2 separate regions of the Homo sapiens genome follow, and region 2 is linked to region 1. Evidence: promoter capture Hi-C in 16 types of primary human blood cells and fetal thymus (Javierre and others, 2016). All regions are on one chromosome and are shown on one strand. The core of a region is centred on a gene start or on the middle of the fragment in contact, and the rest is flanking DNA. Distances in the headings are between cores, read along the strand shown. Region 1 holds the start of HORMAD1 (HORMA domain containing 1). Region 2 overlaps ARNT (aryl hydrocarbon receptor nuclear translocator).

The links. The method cuts DNA at HindIII sites, captures the fragments that hold promoters and counts their contacts. A CHiCAGO score of 5 or more calls a contact.
Region 2: a fragment that was not itself captured here is called in contact with the fragment with the promoter of HORMAD1 in region 1 in 5 of 17 cell types (endothelial precursors, M1 macrophages, M2 macrophages and 2 more); the score reaches 6.8 in endothelial precursors.

What each region holds. Positions count from the first base shown.
Region 1 is chr1:150,719,404-150,722,335 of GRCh38, reverse strand. HORMAD1 (HORMA domain containing 1) reads left to right here and starts at 1,441. Exons shown (of 15, transcript NM_032132.5): 1 at 1,441-1,532; 2 at 2,798-2,863. The coding sequence starts at 2,831. The HindIII fragment of the contact is 2,080 bases long and covers 701-2,780 here.
Region 2 is chr1:150,817,658-150,820,750 of GRCh38, reverse strand. It overlaps ARNT (aryl hydrocarbon receptor nuclear translocator), which reads left to right. Exons shown (of 22, transcript NM_001668.4): 15 at 2,721-2,831. Among named protein-coding and RNA genes, the nearest start is that of CTSK, 11 kb to the right of the region's middle. The HindIII fragment of the contact is 4,466 bases long and covers 1-3,093 here.

The sequences.
Region 1 (2,932 bases), core at 192-2,691:
TGTCTCTACTAAAAATACAAAAAAATTAGCCGGGTGTGGTGGCGGGCGCCTGTAGTCCCAGCTACTTGGGAGGCTGAGGCAGGAGAATGGTGTGAACCCAGGAGGTGGAGCTTGCAGTGAGCCGAGATCGCACCACTGCACTCCAGCCTGGGCGACAGACAGAGCAAGACTCCGTCTCAAAAAAAAAAATTTATATATATATATTAAGATATTAATAGTGTAACCATAATTTTTTTTTTTTGAAACAAGTCTCACTGCCGCCTAGGCAGGAGTGCAGTGGCTCAAACAGGGCTCACTGCCACTGCAAACTCCTGGGCTCAAGGGATCCTCCTGCCTAAGCCTCCTGAGTAGCTGAGACTACAGGTGTGTGCCACAACCTCTGCCTAATTTTTTTTATTTTTTGTAGAGACAGGGTCTCACTTTGTTGCCCAAGCTGATCCCCAATTTCTGGCCTCAAGCAATTGTTCCGCCTCAGCCTCCCAAAGTGCTGGGATTATTGGCATGAGCCACCACATCTAGCCAACATAACTTTTATACACATGGAAAACTAAAAAATTGTGTAATTTGCTTTATTATGTTGTTTGCTTTATTGGAGGGTCTGGAACTGAACTTGCAATATCTCCAAGGTATGCCTGTAATTGAATGTTTACACTGGTAAGAAATGTATTTGGATATATAATAATCTGTAAACTAAGAAGCTTGTACTACTGAATAATCTCCAACTATTAATACCTACCCACTCTGATTTTATTTTGTTTCTAAATGAGACAAATTACATTCAAAGCTATCCATTGTCCCCAATGACATAACACAGTGGAAGTGGCTAAGTAGAAGACTGCTAAAGCAAATGGTTTCCTGAAGATACAGGAGATTGGAAGGTGGGAATGCAATTTGTGGTAGTTCCAATGAGAAAATCAAAAGTCAGCCGGGTGTGGTGGCTCACGCCTGTAATCCCAGCACTTTGGGAGGCCGAGGGAGGCAGGTCACCTGAGGTCGGGAGTTTGAGACCAGCTTGGCCAACATGGCAAAACCCCGTCTCTACTAAAAATACAAAAATTAGCTGGGCATGGTGGCGGACGCCTGTAATCCCAGCTACTTGGGAGGCTGAGGCAGGAGAATTGCTTGAACCCTGGAGGCAGAGGTTGCAGTGAGCCAAGATCATGCCACTGCACTTCAGCCTGGACGACAAGAGCAAAACTCCGTCTCAAAAAAAAAAAAAAAAAAAAAAGAAAGAAAATCAAAAGTCAGAAAAACAATCAGAAATTCAGTAACTGCACATGCAGTTACTTAACCTTCCCCCTTCTGTCTGGCTTTTCCACTGCCTGAGACGTGGCGCTGAGGCTTCCCGTGTCTGAGGCTCCCAGTGCGCCTTGCGCTGCGCTTGGCGGGAAAGGTGACCTCGACCAGGGGTCAAAAAGCCACTGTCGCGCCCCAGCGGGTGACCGTTGAAGGAAAGCGCATGCGCGTCGGGCACAGCGCGTGCAGCCTCGTGCAGCTCTTCTGGTCTCCGGCGCCCGCCCCTCAGACGTAATGTAATATATATTAGTGTGTATATATCTGTGTGTGTGTGCGTATATTTTACTTTTTAATCTCTTTGTCTGTCAGCTTCCCCCTACTTTTAAGTTTCTTAAGGTCTTAGTGGTAAAACATTTGCGGTAAAAATGTATACCCACTTACTTGTCAACAGAGGTTCTTGAGATGGGGTGAGTACGGACGGCGAATTCAGGATTTGTCAGGATAAATTTAAACGTTTAACGTAAATAGGTTCTTCTATGAAGTTTGCCTCTTTAGTAAACTCTTCCAGCTGAATTGTCTGATTAAGAAAAGTGAAACTGGGGCCGGACACAGTGGTTCCGGACACACAACTTCCTGTAATCCCAGCAAGTTGGGCGGCTGAGGCCGGAGGATCATTTGAGACCAGCCTGACCAACATGGCGAAACCCCGTCTCCACTAAAAATAGAAAAAAAAATTAGCGGCCGGGCACGGTGCTTCACGCCTATAATCCCAACACCTTGGGGGCCGAGGCGGGCGGATCACGAGGTCAGGAGTTTCCTGGCCAACATGGTGAAACCCCGTGTCTACTAGAAATACAAAAATTAGCTGGGCGTGGTGGCACGCCTGGAGTCCCAGCTACTCAGGAGGCTCAGGCAGGAGAATCACTTGAACCCAGAGGGGGAGGTTGCGGTGAGCCGAGATCGCGCCATTACACTCCAGCCTGGGCAACAGAGAGAGACACCGTCTCGAAAAAAAAAATTGTATATATATATATGGTGGGCACCTGTGGTCCCAGCTACTCGGGAGGCTGAGGCAGGAGAATCGCTTGAACCCGGGAGGCGGAGCTTGCAGTGAGCTGAGATCGCGCCACTGCACTCCAGCCTGGCGACAGAGCGAAACTCCGTCTCAAAAAAATGAAAAATAAAAACAAATAAAACTGAAAAAGTTTAGAGGGTTTGCCAGGCAATTTTTCATTACTGAATACCTACCTGTACAATGTTGTCATTGTTTGAATTTGTATAGGGAATAAAAATAGGAAGATTGTGCCTTTTTAAAAAGTTCTCTTAAACAGTTTCTTAATAACCCATTTGTTTGAGACTTGCTAGTCAAATGGCTTCAAATCAGGACCCTACTCAAAATGGTTCTACTGCAATATCGACCTCTACGTTTTTGAAGACTCTATTTTAATTAAAGAAATTCAAATTTATTCACATAAAATTGTTTTGAATTTTATATGTGGTAAACTGAAATGTTAGAGGAAAAAAATGAGCTCTAAGTTAAAGCTTGTATTTGTGTCACAAGGTTGAATTAAAGAAAATACTTTATCAGAAGAAGATGGCCACTGCCCAGTTGCAGAGGACTCCCATGGTATGATTTCTTGTATTTTGGTATATCTTAATAATAGCTGCTTTTATTGTTTCTTGAAGTCTCAAATAC
Region 2 (3,093 bases), core at 594-3,093, 98 kb before region 1:
TTGAAGTTCTTCATTTTCCAGCTTATAGGATTTGGGATAGTTGATCAGAGTAGAGTAAGGTTTTTTTGTTTTGTTTTGTTTTGTTTTGTTTTTTCAGACAGGGTCTCGCTCTGGCACCCAGGCTGGAATGCAGTGGTGTGATCATGGCTCACTGCAGCTTGAACCTCCCAGGCTCAAGTGATCCTCCCACCTCAGTCCCCTGAGTAGCTGGGACTACAGACATCTACCAAGACGCCTGGCTAATTTTTGTATTTTTTGTAGAGATGGGATTTTTCCATGTTGCAGAGTCTGGTCTTAAACTCCTGGGCACAAGCAGTCCATCGTCCTCCCAAAGTGCTAGGATCACAGGCGTAAGCCACTGCACCTGGCCAGAGTAAGATTTTACAAACAATAATTCAGAGACTAGGTCCTGAGATGGAAGGGTTTAGTTTCAATTCTATGTATCAACTCTTTCTGGAAAGGACTATGTTTTGTACACCAGTTTATTGCTCTAGTCTGGCAGGATTTTCCTCTGGAGCAGGGGTAGGCAAGCTCTTTCTATAAGTGGGGCTAGATAGTAAATATTTTAGGCTTTGTGGGCCATGTGGTCTTTATTCCACCTACTCAACTCTGCTGTAGCATGAAAACAGTCATAGACAAATGAAAGAATGGGGCTGTGTTCCAGTAAATCTTTATTTAGAAAAACAGGCAGTGGGCCTGATTTGGTCAGTTTTCTTTAGAGCATAGCTACATCCTCCTCTTTCATTAGTTACTGTTCCTCTCTTTTGCACTTTTCTATTTGAGTTTTCTTTCTCAGTTTCTTTTTTAAAAAGTTTTATGAGATATATTTCACATACCATATACCTCACTCATTTAAAGTATACAGTGTTTTTTAGTATATCACATAGTTATGTAACTCTTACTGCAGTCTAATTTCAGAATATTTTCATTCCCCCAAAAGAAATTCTAGATCAGTTAACAGTCATTCCCTGTTCTTTCCCCCGGCTCTGAAATTCTGTATAACTATGAATCTGTTGTCTTTATAAATTTGTCTATTCTAGACTTTTCGTATAAATGGAATCATAGACTTTGTAATTCCTTTGTAACTGGCCTATTTTACTTAGTATAATGTTTACAGAGGTTATCTGTACTGATACATGTTGTAGCATGTATCAGTACTTCATTTCTTTTTATTGCCAAATAAGATTTCATTGTATGGATATACCACATACTGTCTGTATGTTCGTTAATGGACATTTGGTTGTTTCTACTTCTTGGTTATCAAAAATGCTTCCATATGTAAAATAGGGATAAGGAACTGAAAAAATGCTTTCATGAATATTTGTTTACTAGTTTTTATGTGGATATATGTTTTTATTCTCTTGAATTCCACCCAGGAGTGGAATTGCTGGCCACATAGTAACTCTGTTTTACCTTTTGAGGAACTGCCAAACTGTTTTCCAAAGCTGCCCCATCATTTTGCATTCCCAGGAGCTCTGATTCCTCCACATCCTTGTTAACACTTGTTATTGCCTTTTTTTTTTTATTGTAGCCATCTAGTAGGTATCAATTGTCAGGTTACCACCTTGCCATTTAATCTTTTCTTTCTGTAGAATTGGCCTTGAATCCACCTCTTGAAGATCAGATTATGACTACTTAGCAAATATGAATAATACCTAGTGACAAGTTTTGTCCAATTCAGTCTTTAGAACTTGTAAAGTTTAATTCTTTGCTAACTAACTTAGTATAACAGAGTGGATTGAGTTAGAAATTTTTATTAACTTAGGACTCAAGTGGATGGTCATGGTCATTGTAGTTCTTTATTTTTGTCTCTTTGCATCTTTATATTACACAACAGCCTTCATTTTTGTGTTTCCATTTTGTTTAAATTTTTAAAAATTTAAGTTGTTTGAAGGACTCGAGTTTCTGGAAATAATTGCTTTCTCCATGTTTATGTATCATTTTCCCTACCATGATTAATTTTAATTAGCTTTTAGGGATTTGTTTGTTTGTTTGTTTCATTGAGACAGTGTCTCACTCTGTCACCCAGGCTGGAGTGCGGTGGCGCTATCTCAGCTCACTGCAACCTCCGCCTCCCAGGCTCAAGCAATCCTCCCATCTGTCTCCTGAGTATCTGGGACTACAGGAGCCCGCCACCACGCCTGCTAATTTTTGTATTTTTTGTAGAGACGGAGCTTCACCATGTTGCCCAGGCTGGTCTCAAACTCCTGAGCTCAAGCAATCCACCCTGCCTCAGCCTCCCAAAGTGCCAGGATTACAGGTGTAAGCCACCGTGCCTGGCCAGTATTTTATTTTTAAATAAATATTCTTTATAGAAAATGTGGAAAGTATTGAAAAATACAAAGAGAAGGAATAAAATTCTCACACTCCAGATAGTCTTTGTTGATGTACAGTGTATGTACTTTCATTTTTTTACCTATGCTTTTAAAAAATACCTTATATGAATATATACACACATTCACAATAACCAGGTTTTGAATACCTAGAAGGAGTTAGAACCCAACAAGATGACCCCTGTGTCATAGAACATGGTTTCTGTTTGCTGAAACTGACACCCTAGATTAACTATAGGATAGGACTTTAATGAAGGATTTATTGATTGTTCCACCTACAGATGAATCTATAGAGCTTTACATACAGAATCTTATTCTTCTCTTTCTCTCTCTCTCCCCCCTTCCTCCCTCTCCACCCCCTCTTTACTGTCTACTCTGGTTTCCTAGGAACTCTAGCCAAGAACCACGGCCTACACTCTCCAACACAATCCAGAGGCCACAACTAGGTCCCACAGCTAATTTACCCCTGGAGATGGGCTCAGGACAGCTGGCACCCAGGTAAAAAAGGGTGAAATAATCATCTGTTGAGCAGTCACCCAGGGGGTGGTCATTTGCAATCCCATATATTTTTTGTTCGGTTGGTTAATTTTTTTTTTTTTTTTTTGAGAAGGAGTTTTGCTCTCATTGCTCAGGCTGGATGGAATACAATGGCACGATCTAGGCTCACTGTGACCTCTGTCTCCTGGGTTCAAGTGATTCACCTGCCTCAGCCTCCCAAATAGCTGGGATTACAGGTGCCTGCCACCACCCCCGGCTAATT